Regions from separate parts of the Homo sapiens genome. Here region 2 is linked to region 1. Evidence: promoter capture Hi-C in human tissues and cell types (Jung and others, 2019). All regions are on one chromosome and are shown on one strand. Each heading gives the region's core, a stretch centred on a gene start or on the middle of the fragment in contact. The rest is flanking DNA. Distances are from core to core; before and after follow the strand shown.

What was found. The method cuts DNA at HindIII sites, captures the fragments that hold promoters and counts their contacts. A contact is called where the count stands out against the background at its distance.
Region 2: a fragment that was not itself captured here is called in contact with the fragment with the promoter of TMEM81 in region 1 in 2 of the 25 tissues and cell types used here (dorsolateral prefrontal cortex and mesenchymal stem cells).

The regions. Positions count from the first base shown.
Region 1 is chr1:205,082,901-205,089,724 of GRCh38, reverse strand. TMEM81 (transmembrane protein 81) reads left to right here and starts at 5,265. Exons shown (of 1, transcript NM_203376.2): 1 at 5,265-6,596. The coding sequence starts at 5,405. The coding sequence ends at 6,172. RBBP5 (RB binding protein 5, histone lysine methyltransferase complex subunit) reads left to right here. Exons shown (of 14, transcript NM_005057.4): 14 at 910-3,583. The coding sequence ends at 938. The HindIII fragment of the contact is 3,641 bases long and covers 2,464-6,104 here.
Region 2 is chr1:205,196,933-205,204,287 of GRCh38, reverse strand. All of the region lies in intron 1 of DSTYK (dual serine/threonine and tyrosine protein kinase), which reads left to right. It also overlaps the pseudogene RPL17P8. Among named protein-coding and RNA genes, the nearest start is that of DSTYK, 11 kb to the left of the region's middle. The HindIII fragment of the contact is 5,997 bases long and covers 1,484-7,355 here.

The DNA.
Region 1 (6,824 bases), core at 4,016-6,515:
CATAACATTCAGTAGAAAGTTTGTATCTCATTGTAACTTTAGTCTGTTCTCAGGCACATGTGAATATATTTTTATTGCCAGTTTTCATTTGTGCAGGAACTTCAAAAATCAAAGTTATATAAATGGGTACTTTTCTTTCATAGTTTGGGCGATTATTTTTTAACCATTATACCTTCAAGTGGCATGCTCTCTGCCATTCCAAATGACACCTGGGAGGATTTTCTTCACCTTCTTCTCTTTTTACACTTCCTAGTTAATATTTCACAGCAGCTCATTTAACGATGTCTCTCAGAGGTTGAGCAGCTTCTATGGAATAATCAGGGAAGTGTTCATTTCATTGTACTATTCAGGATATTATTTATCGATCATTGTTGGTGTATAGCAATGTAGACAGTAGCTCTCACGAACATTTCACCATATTTGGGATTCTAAGGTGATAAGTATGTCACTTAAGGAACTGTGGTGCTGGGAAAAGGGTTTCTTGCTCACTTGTTAATCATTTAGTGACTAATCAATCTTTAAAATATATGAAGGGTTGAAAGGTGTGGTACCCTAAAATTTCTTCTCCTCTCCTCATTGCACTTTTTGGAATGTTAAACATTATTTGTTAGCACCTTAGAGCATGGTTAGCAGCTTAGAAAAAATAGAACTCTGATCATTTTGCTTTTCCCCCAACCCTTTGGGACAGTACTGAGGAAAGTATTGGGGTGGGGGGTTTGGATTTGGATTGTTTTTTGTTCAATAAAGAGTAATTGGGAGTTGGAGTTGGTTATGTATTTTCTTAAAAAGGGGAATTTCTTGGTCCACGTGTGCTTGTAATGCATCATCCAGCATTCAGTATTTCTGTTCTTACAAGTAACTGGTCTAAATTGAAGCTAAAAGAAATCTTTTTGTGTCTAATCTCTTTAGCAGGAGGAGCAATCTCAGAACTGTTATGAAGACCTTCGAAGTTCTTCATTCTTTCTCACTTTGCCATCATGTGGCCTCTGGACACTGTGGTCAGTCATTTGAAAATTGACTTTAATTTAAAACAAAGGCCTGTGCCTCCCACCCAGGAGGTGGGAGGGTGAATTTTATGTTTAAATGAAGAAGTGAATTATGGAAGAAGAGTATACGACCTTCCCTTCCCTTTCAAGCATAAGTCCAAATAGACTCTCAGGAATGAAGATTTGTGAAGACATCAGATAGGAATTTTGACTCATTTAAACTTTGATGCTTAGTTATGTTGCTGGAGAAAAGATACTTATGTTTTGCTCATCTAACTTCATTGTACCCAGCGTCATTTTGACATGTCATTTCCTATCTCCCATTTGCCTTCGGTCCTCAATGCATGTCTTTGAGTGACTTCTTATCTGAAATTTTGCTACTGGTATCCTAGGAAAGCTTTTGTTGGATACTCTCATTTTAAACTTCTCCTCTCCCCAGATACCTCCTATATTTCCATATTGTGTGCAAAGGATGGGCAGAAAAGAAAGTGCTTGAAAGATTTCAAATTTTCAGAAAGGGAACAACGAAGGCCCTCTCTTCCTCTCATACCACGTTTTGCTCAAGAAGCTGGGCTGTAACAATTCAGGGTTTTCCCTTGTTTTCCTCTCATTGCATGTTTCCCTCCAATATTGGTTCATTGTCATCAATCATGGTTTTTGAAGATAGCTAGTTTTATCCATCTCCAGCAAAGAATCATCAATAGTTTATATTGCTTTACCTGTGCTGGCTTCCAGAGATGGAAACAAACCCAGGTGTCTCTCAACAAGCTACTTTTTTACTGGGGTGGGGGAATCTATGCAAGGAGTAAAGTAAAACCATCCAGAATCAAAGCAGCAACCACATAGTTCAAATCAAAGATCAAGGTGAATTTTTTGTATCACTGCCTGTGGAAATCTATCCTCATCAGTCATTGCATTTTTCCCTGCCTATACCTGTGCTCCTTTTTCTTACTGTGTTTTCAGTCACTTCCTTTCTGTGAAAGGTTGCTTAGCTTTTTTTTTGACATTTGTTGTTCTTTATAAAAATAACAGATTGGATAGATGTGTACATTTGGTGTTTGAAATTCTCTGAAAATCCCATTAGGAAACCAGGTGTGAAAAGGGCTCAGTAGCTTCTCTGAGTGGCGTTTTTAGCTGACTGGAAGTGCTTAATCTGGATCGTCTTTTTTTTTTTTTTTTTTTTTTCAATATTTTAAAAGGAGAATTTAAATACTGTGCTTACTGTGAAATATATCAGTTGGTGAGCCGGGCGTGGTGGGTCACGCCTGTAATCCCAGCACTTTGGGAGGCCAAGGCGGGTTGATCACCCGAGGTCAGGAGTTCAAGACCAGCCTGGCCAACGTGGTGAAAGCCTGTATCTATTAAAAGACAAAAATTAGCTGGGCGTGGTAGTACATGCCTGTAATCCCAGCTACACTGGAGGCTGAGTCAGGAGAATCACTTGAACGTGGGAGGCAGAGGTTGCAGTGAGTGGAGATCGCACCACTGCCCTCCAGCCTAGGTGACAGAATGAGACTCTATCTCAAAAAAAAAAAAAAAATGATATCAGTTGGTGGATGCTCCTATAGGTAGCCAAACACATTGATTACCTGTTAGATTTTAGGATAGAAATCAAAGTAGAGCACGTCAGCAAGAGCCTCTTTGTCTCACTCCATCATTTAAAACCAGTATATTCAGTAGTTGAAGAAAGAGCTCTCCCTGAGTCAGTTGCAAAACGTCTATATTTTTAGATGCCACTACTTTTTTCTTAAATATTCATTTTGAGACTGTCATGAGTTAGACCAGTGGTTGAGATTAGTAGATGGCTCACTAGACATGTTTTTGTTTTGCAGACATTATATCCATTCCAGTCCTCTGCACTGTACACTGCAGCAGTGTGCAAACTATGGGACTTAGAGGGTTTCTGCCATCTTTCCACGTGTGAAGTAGCTTGGTTTCCTCTGCCTGTGCATTTGGATGTTTGTGCTATGTCCACCTCCTAAACTGGCTACTGAGAAAATCATCTTCAGCCCTGTCAGATTGTCTCTGGCAGTAGCTCCTAATAATTATTTATGTTTTTGGAATTTTTTTTTCAACTTTTAAAAAACCTTCTATCCATTTCAATTTGAATTATTTGATTTGTACAATATATGTATATTCTCTTCTTCCTTTTTGTCATCCCTGCCCTGCCACCCCCAAAATTTTGTTTTTAAAAATATTCTGGGCTGGGCATGGTGGCTCACACCTGTAATCCCAGCACTTGGGGAGGCCGAGGCTGGTGGATCATCTGAGGTCAGGTGTTTGAGACCAGCCTGGTCAACATGGTGAAACCCCGTCTCTACTAAAAATACAAAAATTAGCTGGGCGTGGTGGCGGGCACCTGTAATCCTAGCTACTCGGGAGGCTGAGGCAGGAGAATTGCTTGAATCCAGGAGGCAGAGGTTGCAGTGAGCTGAGATTGCGCCACTGCACTCCAGCCTGGGTGACAGAGCAAGACTCCATCTCAAAAAAAAAAAAAAAAAAAAATCTGTAGTTTTGTACAAGATGAGACTTAGCCTTGGGTACTTCTTGCTGAAGCTTTAATGCTTTGTAAATAAAATCGGATGTTTATTAAAGAACAGGTGTAGATGTTTATTTGTAAACACTGCTCACTTCTGGAACTCTCTGGCCACTTTGCTTTAGTACAAAGGAAAGTGTGATTTCCTGTGTTGATACTAGATCTTTCAGTGTGGAAAGATAGATCTGGAAGGGGTAGGGAGTGGACAGGTAGTCTAGATTTCTGCCTCTAGATGAGATTGTAAATAAATGATGCAAGTGGAAAAGTTGTTGATCAAAAAGATCATCTAGGAATGATCTGTCTTCCAATTATTTAACTCAATATAGTTTTGCAATTACTCTGAAGAGGCCGTAGGGCTAGGCATTCTGGAGGTTACAAAAATGCATGCTAGGAAGTTCCTGTCTTCCAAGGACCTTTCTTCAAGTCTAAGTAAGTACGGTTGAATTCTTATTAGCCTTTTTTTTTTTTTGAATGAAGCAGCTTTAAAATTTATTAAATGCTCGTTGTCTCCTAAAGATAAGATGTTTCACAAAGTCTATGTAAGTCTTTGATTTTAATGTCAAATTTGAGGGTCTACTTATTAATCTTATGTGATTGAGAACTCCATCTTTGACATCATAGCTGTTTCATAGCAACCTTGACCTACGTGAATAATGAGCTCTATTCTGTAGGATAAAGGGAGTAGGCCAAGAGTCAGGGAGCATCATGCATCCTCTCACTCAAAATATATCTTCAGTATCCTTGGGAAGGAAGAGTGCCTAAAAGGGGGAGAGGAGCTGCCTTTAACACAACCTTAAACATTCTGATTTGAAAAGGTCATCTTGGCCCTTGTCTTTATGAATTTCCATTTCTATTTAAAATTCCTTACACATTGAACAGTGTTTCACACTTTACAAAGTGTTCTCACATACAGTATATCATTCAGTGCTCTAAGTGACCTTCCTCAGATAGGCAAGGAGGTCTTAAGTTACAAAGGAGGAAACAGAAATTCAGGAAGGGTAAGTTACTTGCCTCCTAGTCCAGAGTTCTTAATCCTTTTTATAGGAAGTTTAGGAACATTAAAATAATTCAAGTTAATCTTCCTTTTTTTAGACTTTAGTATTTGTTTTATTTGGTGACATTTAACTGGGGCTTTTGAAACCCTTAATTTAGATCCTAGTTTATAGAGGGGAAGGGGAAGGGTGAGGAAGAGTGTAACTTCACTATGCATTTGAGGTAATCTGGAAATTTACTTCAGTTTCTGAAGTCTTTTCTTCTTTGTCTTCCCAAGAGGTGGATTTAAAGTCATTAAGAGAACACGAAAACGGCCAGCGCGGTGGCTCATGCCTGTAATCCCAGCACTTTGGGGGGCTGAGGTGGGTGAATTGCTTGAACCCAGGAGTTGGAGACAAGCCTCGACAACATGGTGAAACCCCGTATCTACAAAAAATAGAAAAATTAGCCAGGTGTGATAGCCTGCACCTGTAGTCCCAGCTACCTAGGAGGCTGAGGTGGCAGGATCACTTGAGCCTAGGAGGTTGAGGCTGCAGTGAGCTGTGATCATGTTACTGCACTCCAGCCTGGGTTGACAGTGAGGCCCTGCCTCAAAAAAAAAAAAAAAAAAAAAAAGCGTGAAGACTAGTAGGTAAGGTGGTTATTTTATTAACAACGATAGTTAGTAAAGCAACACCATTGTGATTTTTTTCCTGCCTTGTGGCCTCACCTGTTTATAAGGACTGGACTTTTATTTATTAAGTTGTGTTGTTTTATTGACAATACATGCATCATATCTTTTGACTTTGAAGGATATCTCATGTCAAAGGAATCAAGTTATGATTTATAGAGGATTCAGCTGGAATACCTTGTGGGTGCTGGCTGAGGGTGGCAAAACGCCTACCGAGACATGAAGGTTTTAGCCACTAGTTTTGTCCTTGGGAGCCTGGGGTTGGCCTTCTACCTGCCTTTGGTGGTGACTACACCTAAAACACTGGCCATCCCTGAGAAGCTGCAAGAAGCTGTGGGGAAAGTTATCATCAATGCCACAACCTGTACTGTCACCTGTGGCCTTGGCTATAAGGAGGAGACCGTCTGTGAGGTGGGCCCTGATGGAGTGAGAAGGAAATGTCAGACTCGGCGCTTAGAATGTCTGACCAACTGGATCTGTGGGATGCTCCATTTCACCATTCTCATTGGCAAGGAATTTGAGCTTAGCTGTCTGAGTTCAGACATCTTGGAGTTTGGACAGGAAGCTTTCCGGTTCACCTGGAGACTTGCTCGAGGTGTCATCTCCACTGACGATGAGGTCTTCAAACCCTTTCAAGCCAACTCCCACTTTGTGAAGTTTAAATATGCTCAGGAGTATGACTCTGGGACATATCGCTGTGATGTGCAGCTGGTAAAAAACTTGAGACTCGTCAAGAGGCTCTATTTTGGGTTGAGGGTCCTTCCTCCTAACTTGGTGAATCTGAATTTCCATCAGTCACTTACTGAGGATCAGAAGTTAATAGATGAGGGATTGGAAGTTAATCTGGACAGCTACTCCAAGCCTCACCACCCAAAGTGGAAAAAGAAGGTGGCGTCAGCCTTGGGAATAGGAATTGCCATTGGAGTGGTTGGTGGCGTGTTGGTGAGGATTGTCCTCTGTGCGCTAAGGGGGGGCCTGCAGCAGTGACAGCTTCAAGAACTTAACAGCCTTGCTCCTGAAGAACTGGCTGCCCAGGAAGCCAAGCTAGCTTTTTAGGGGAGTGTTCCAGCTGCTGGTAGTGGATCAGCTTAGAGGGAACACTCCCACAGCCAAAAGAATGAGTGGGAGAAATGGAGGGGACAATCTCCTGGGAGCTATGCGCAGTAACCTAACTTCCTTATGTCCCATGGATCTCTTCCTGATCTTCCCTGCCCATTGGGTACCCAGGAAACTGCAAGCATTGCCTGTGTTCCTGGGAAGAGTTCTAAGAAGCTTGCATTCATTTTCTACCCTTTATGACTTGGATGCCTCCCCACCTCCATTTCCCCTCTTCTGAGCTGTGTATTCATGTAGAGGGATGTATTCAGCCTTTTTAGTGAACATTTTTTTTCAATAAAAGTAATTCACAGTAGCTGTATGGAGACCTTTTTCTGCTCTTCAGTTTCTTGTATTTATTTAAATTGTCCCATAATCAGTCTGGCTTCATTTTCCTCAGGTTTCTTAGAATAGACATTAAACCAATTGTCTGCTTTTGGGGGCAGGGGGTGCAGTGCATAAGCCTATGGCAGGGGTTGTTAGTAATGACATCCAACTCAGGTGTGTAACAGTCACTAAATATTAACAAATTGCCTGTTCTGCC
Region 2 (7,355 bases), core at 3,233-5,732, 120 kb before region 1:
TGACCTGACCATGGGAATACAAAATACACCCTGGCAGTAAAGAGACTCTGTTACAGATGAGTCGTCACCCAGGCTCCACAGCTTGTATGGAACTGTCATTTACTGAGTGGGAGACTATCTGATTGAATGAGTATAATGTGGCACTACCTACTCAGGCTCTTATTCTAGTTTCCACTCCCTGACATTTAGGGCATCAGGCCCCTTGTTGCTGATCTTGCTATCTCCTGCTCCCTGGGAGGAAATGGCCTCCCTAACCACAGTGGCTCTTTGCACCCTTTCCCTTTCTGGCCTTTCTCCTTCCGAATCTTCCTTTCTGGGGGTAATCTGTTTCCCATGGTACAGGTCTGCCTGCTGTTTTTGTTGTTGTTGTTTTGAGACAGAGTCTCGCTCTGTTGCCCAGGCTGGAGTGCAGTGGCATGATCTTAGCTCACTGCAACCTCTGCCTCCCGGTTCAAGCATTTCTCCTGTCTCAACCTCCCAAGTAGCTGGGGCTACAGGCACACACCACCATGCCCAGATAATTTTTGTATTTTTAGTAGAGTCAAGGTTTCACCATATTGGTCAGGCTGGTCTGGAACTCCTGACCTCAGGTGATCCACCTGCCTCGGCCTCCCAAAGCACTGGGATTACAGGCATGAGCCACCTTGCCCAGCTGGTCAGCTTGCTATTAAAAAACATTGGGAAATTCTGCCCCCTCCCTTCCCCTCCCCTCCCCTCCCCTCCCCTCCCCTCCCCTCCCCTTCCCTACCGTACCCCTCCCCTCCCCTCCCCTTCCCTACCCTACCCCTCCCCTCCCCTCTCCTTTTCTTATTTTATTTTTTGAGACAGTCTCACTCTTGTTGCCCAGGCTGGATCTTGGCTCACTGCAACCTCTGCCTCCTAGATAAAAATGATTCTCCTACCTCAGCCTCCCAAGTAGCTGGGACTGCAGGCACGCGCGAACCACACCTGGCTATTTTTTTTTTTTGGTAGAGACGGGGTTTCACCGTTTTGGCCAGGCTGATGTTGAACTCCTGGCCTCAAGTGATCTGGCCACCTTGGCCTCCCAAGGTGCTGGGATTACAGGCGTGAGCTCCCATGCCCATCCTGCCTGCTTTTAAAAGAGAAAATATTATTGCCTTTAAGCTTATTATAATTTGCAATATGTTTAGTCTTAAAAGTCATTACTGATTTCAGTATGGTTAGTTCTTCAGCCTTGCAAGTAGTTTTTACAGAAGGCATGGATTTAAATAAAAATCCAGTCTGGTTTTTATATTTTGTTTTGCTCTGTCTACTTTCTCCTTTTCTTTCTCCATGCTTCTGTTCTCTGTTTTACTAGGTTAAGAGAACAGGGAATCTTTCTCCAATAAATGCACTTCTCAAAAACAATCCTTTCAGAATAAAACCTAAAAAAAAGTTACAGAAATAAAGGGGAATATGAATTTTACCTTATACCTGTTACTCAGTTAATATAGGCTCTGCTCATACAGATTATGCCTTTATTTACTTTCTTTTCTTTCCTTTTTTTAAAAAAATATTTAATTGTATTTACTTTAAAGCTGAATTTACTCCTGTGTCATAAGTTTTTGTTTCTTCAGTTTCTTCTGGGATAACTTTTTCTTCTGGGCACCCTCCTCTTCTGGTTTAGGAACAATCTGTTCCTTTTCAGTAAGGATCATCTCAATGTGGCAGAGAGAGCTCACGTATGGGTTAATCCGACCATGAGCTCTGCAGGTCCAGCGGCGCATCTTAGGTGCTTTGTTCACTTTGATATGCCCAACGACCAGAGAATCTACATCTAAACCCTTAAGTTCAGCATTACTCTCTGCATTTTTAAGCATGTGTAGCAAAAATTCAGCAAGCTTTTTGGGCCACTGACCTTGTCCAGCCCCACTGCTTGGCCTGGGCACACCAACCAACGCAACCATTGTAATGTTGGAATGGTACATGCTGTTTCTGTAAAGTGGTAGCTTTCAGATACTTCGTGGCTTTTCGTATATGCATACCCTTGATGGCCTGAGAAGTGTCATGAGTATTCTTAAAGTGAACACGAAGATTTGAACCTCTTGATTTGCATGATTTTGTGGGGTTCTCTGGGTCAAGTGAATAGCGAACCATTTTCACGGATTACCTCAGGCCACGTAGGGGAAGAAGCCCCTTCCCCTTCCCCTTCCCCTTCCCTTCCCTTCCCCTTCTCCCTTCCCCCTCTCCCTTCCCCTTCTCCCTTTCCCCTCTCCCCTTCCCGAGTTTCCCACATTTCCTTTCCTGATGCCCAGGCTGGAGTGCAGTGGTGCAATCTTGGCTCACTGCAACCTCTGCCTCCCAAGTTCAAGCAATTCTCCTGCCTCAGCCTTCCTGAGTAGCTGGGATCACAGGCATGCACCACCACGACCGGCTAATTTTGTATTTTTAGTAGAGACAGGGTTTCACCATGTTGGTCAGGCTGGTCTCGAATTCCTGACCTCAGGTGATCCTCCCGTCTTGGCTTCCCAAAGTGCTGGCATTACCGGTGTGAACCACTGCGCCCAGCCTTTTCTTTTGTATGATAGCTGTGAGTATGTTTGTCTTAGCCTGCTGACAAGATTGTGTACCCCTAAGGGTAAAGAGTATGTTTTACTCATTTTGTACCCCCAGTAGTGCCTACCATAGTGCTTTGTACATAATGGGCAAATAAATATCTGTTAAATTATTTCCACAGCTGGTGGATATTGGAATGATGTTTTGAAATTAAATGCAATTTAATTCCTTCCTTGGAAGGGCGTTTTTTTTGGCCCCATAGAACATAAGGATTTTTGTAAATTCACACACATTTTACTCTCTGGGCCCCTAAAAAAGAACAATGATATGCATTTCATAGGTGACTAGTTAGGCTGCAGTTGCATTCTTTTTTTTTTTTTTTTTTTGCATTAAAAAAATTTTGTTTTTAATTTTGTGTGTACATAGTAGGTTTATATATTTATGGGATACCTGAGATGTTTTGATACAGGCATGCAATGTGAAATAAACACATCATGGAGAATGGGGTAGCCATCCCCTTAAACATTTATCCTTTAAGTTACAAACAATCTAATTACTTTCCTTAAGTTATTTAAAAATATACAACTGGGCCATCATGGTGGCTCATGCCTGTAATCCCAGCACTTTGGGAGGCCAAGGCGGGTGGATAACATGAGGTCAGGAGTTCGAGAGCAGCCTGACCAACATAGCGAAACCCCATCTCTACTGAAAATACAAAACTAGCCGGGTATGGTGGCACGTGCCTGTAATCCCAGCTACTCAGGAGGCTGAGGCAGGAGAACAGCTTGAACCTGGGAGGCGGAGGTTGCAGTGAGCCAAGATTGCACCATTGCACTCCAGCCTGGGCAACAAGAGTGAAACTCTGTCTCAAAAAAAAAAAAATTAAATTATTATTGACTATAGTCACCCTGTTGTGCTATCAAGTAGTAGGTGCAGTTGCATTCTGTGCCAGTATCCCAAAGAATTATTTTCATGTTCCAAAGAATGACTTGCATGCAATACCAGTAGACCTGAGCTTCACCATGATATGGGAAGTAAATTCTTAATATTCATTCACTCAGCAAACCTTTATTTAATGCCTGACTCTGTACTAGGCACAGGACACGCATTGGTGAACCACTCTGTCCAACTAACTGAGATTATTAATTCCAAATTGATGTTATGAAGGAAAAAAGGATTAGTGTTTCATCATGTCTCTCCCAGAGGATTTTCTACAAATTGGTTACCTACTTAATCATTAGTTGTCTTTGAGTGGGTAGGAGTGTAGGGCATATGGAAAATTGTAAGATTAAATGGCATTGATAAGGATAGGAGTTGAGGCCGGACGCAGTGGCTCACACCTGTAATCCCAGCACTTTGGGAGGCCGAAGTGGGCAGATCACCTGCGGTGAGGAGTTCAAGACCAACCTGGCCAACATGGCGAAACCCCATCTCGATTAAAAATACAAAAAATTGGCTGGGTGTGGTAGCTCATGCCTATAATCCCAGCACTTTGGGAGGCCAAGGTAGGTGGATCACCTGAGGTTAGTAGTTCAAGACTAGCCTGGCCAACATGGTGAAACCTTGTCCCTACTAAAAATACAAAAAATCATCTGGTCGCGGTGGTAGGCGCCTGTAATCCCAGCTACTTGGGAGGGTGAGGCAGGAGGATCTCTTGAACCCAGGAGGCGAAGTTTGCAACCAGCCGAGATTGCACCACTGCACTCCAGCCAAGGTGACAGAGCGAGACTCTGTCTCATTAAAAAAAAGAATAAGAGTTGAAATGTTCTGCCCACTTTCTGACAGTAGAGGAAAATCAGCCTATTTTCTCTTTGATGGAAAAATTATATCATCTCGTTTTTGTGGTTCAAATGCAGAATGCATTTATGAAGATTACTATTAGAGCTTCTTTCATTTCTGTCTTTCTTAGAAGTTACAGAGAAGCCGGTAGGAAAACTACGAGCTATGGGTGGATGTGGTTTTTTTGGTTATGGTTGTAAAACCTAAGGTTAATTTGCTCCTTCTTACAGGAAAATAGCCTCTAGGGATGACGGGGTTTGCTTCCTACATGGTGCAGGGAATCTGAGTAGTGTCATTCATAACAAGACTACAGAGGGCGAGTCCACGTGGGGGTGCAGTTTTTCTATTTTACCTCACAGAGCTCTGACTGGAGTGCCGTGGGAGGATGTCCAGTCTCAGTATAGGCCATTCCCAGGCTTGGAGGTTGATTCAGTTCTTTGTCACACAGGGAGTTTGGTGATCCTATGGAACCTGGAACTTGACACTTACATGACCAGAGGAGAACAGATGTAGAAATGCTTAAGATGTGTGTCTCCTTGCTTTGAGCTATAAATGAGACTCTCTGAGAAAGTTCCCTTATGCGTAATGTTCCTCCAAAGTCCAAACCAAAACTCTTGGAGGGAAAGTTGGTCAGAGCATGGAGACTCATCAGTATCCCCTGTGGGTTCTGGTTGAAGTGCCCATCACAGGCAGTGTGTTTTTCTATTTTCTTCTCTAGGCAGTGTGAGCAGTTTGGATATATTCCCCAGCTGTGTGCCACGTGGCTGTGGGAACCTTTTGACCACCGCTTTCTTTGGAGTTGGGCTTTATTATAACATGCTTCCATTCCCTGAGGTGGTGTGCTCTGGGCAGGATGATGGGAGTAGGACTTGAGGATTGTTTTGCTTTTCACTTGTCTAACTAATGATACATCAGAATTGTCCCAAATAATTATGTCTAGGTTATATATTTATAAAAGCCTTTGATTTTTTAAAAAAATTCCACTTATTTTAAAAAAGTACTTTCATCCTCAAAGTGTCTAACTTTAGTTTCATCAGATTAAGAGCTTTAGTGCCTGGGAGGCTGAGGCAGAAGAATCGCCTGAACCTGGGAGGCAGAGATTGAAGTGAGTCGAGATCGCGCCACCACACTCCAGCCTGGCGACAGAGCGAGGCTCCATCTCAAAAAAAAAAAAAAAAGCTTTAGTGCCTTATTTATGCCAGACAAATTTCAGTTTAGATCTTTTTTTTAATATTTTCTAGTCTATTTAATGGGGAGAGAATTTCCCAGGGTTTTTTTGTTTTTGTTTTTTTTAAATCAAGTCAAACTTGCCAGAGCAAAGACTAAGGCCCTATCACAAATGCAGCTAGGTTACAAGACTATTTTAAATAAAAGCTCTTTCTATTCAAATGAGAGGGACAGTGAGAATGAACCAGTATGGAGTTTACGTTTTAGGAATATTCCATATGATATACTCTAGCCTTAGCGTTTAATATTATGGCGATATCTAGGTGCAAGGAGGAATGTGGGGGAATATAGCTAGTAAAGAAAAGTCATTCTTATTTTTTAGTATATAAGAACCCCACTGAGGAAACCTCTTTCACTTTCTCCTGATTGAACAACTGACATGCTCTTCTGGTTCTGTCCCATGGAGAGAATTGGAAAAGTTTTGCTGCTTTAACTTGGAAAAGTGGTTTGTTGGTATAGGATAAAAGTAGTTAGTGTATAATGGCAATATAGTCTCTACCACTAATAAACATAAGGGGCCACTACAGGCAGTGCAAAATCAAAGTCAAGCTTCCTCTGTTGGTTTCTTTCTTTCTTTCTTTCTTTTTTTTTTGAGACGGAGTTTCACTCTTGTTGCCCAGGCTGGAGTACAATGGCGTGATCTTGGCTCACCGCAGCCTCCACCTCCCGGGTTCAAGCGATTCTTCTGCCTCAGCCTACCGAGTAGCTGGGATTACAGGCATGTGCCACCACGCCCAGCTAATTCTGTATTTTTAATAGAGACGGGGTTTCTCCATGATGGTCAGGCTGGTCTCAAACTCCCGACCTCAGGTGATCCGCCCGCCTCAGCCTCCCAAAGTGCTGGGATTACAGGCATGAGCCATCACGCCCGGCCTTCGTGGTTTCTTATTTAATGAACCTGATGGTTACAGGTAACTTTCATCAGACTGTTCTATACTGGAGCATCATGTTGGTCTATACTGCTTAGACTTGTGGATTTGGATTCTAAGTCTGATCCTAAACTACTTGCTTAGATCAGTGCCTTGAACTCCCCAGACTCTGAACAAGCAATAGTAAACATCACAGGAAGATTGATGGGATGGAAGGTAATGTGCAGGGCAAAAGTGGAGACAGTGAAGAAACTGTTGTTGTTCAAATCCTGTTATTGCTGTATTTGATGTATTTTTTTTTTTTCCGGCTGGTTTTTCTTGTCAAGTAAAATCCTATCTCTTGATCTCTTTCCTCTGAGATCAAGAGCTGGATACGCTTTGCTAGGTATATATTTGGATCCTAAAAAAATTATTTTGAAATAATTTCAAACATACGTAAGTGTTGCGAGAACAATAAAAGAGTTCCAATACCTGCTTCATGCAAATTTTCTAGTTGTTAACATTTTCATGGATTTGTTCCATCACCCAGTCTCTCTCCTTCCTGATCTATATTAGATGTAGCCTTTTTCTGAACCTTTTGAGAGCTGAGTGCAGTTAGGTTTTCTCATCTCCTCTAAACACTCCAGTATGCATTCCTCCCAAACAAGGATGTGCTTCTATGATCACCATACAGCTCGCCAAATCAAGAAATTAACATGGGTTCAGTACTACCATCCAGTCCACAGACCCTGTTCAGGTTTTGCCAACTGTCCCAACAATGTCTCCTTTTTTTTTTTTTCCTTTCATCACAGGGTATATGACGTTAACCCATCCCTGGAGATGTTTTCTCCACCTTAAATTCACCAGTTTTAGGGCCAGGCGCAGTGGCTCATGCCTGTAATCCCAGCACTTTGGGAGGCCATGGCGGGTGGATCACCTGAAATCAGGAGTTCAAGACCAGCCTGGCCACTATGGTGAAACCCCATCTCTACTAAAAATACAAAA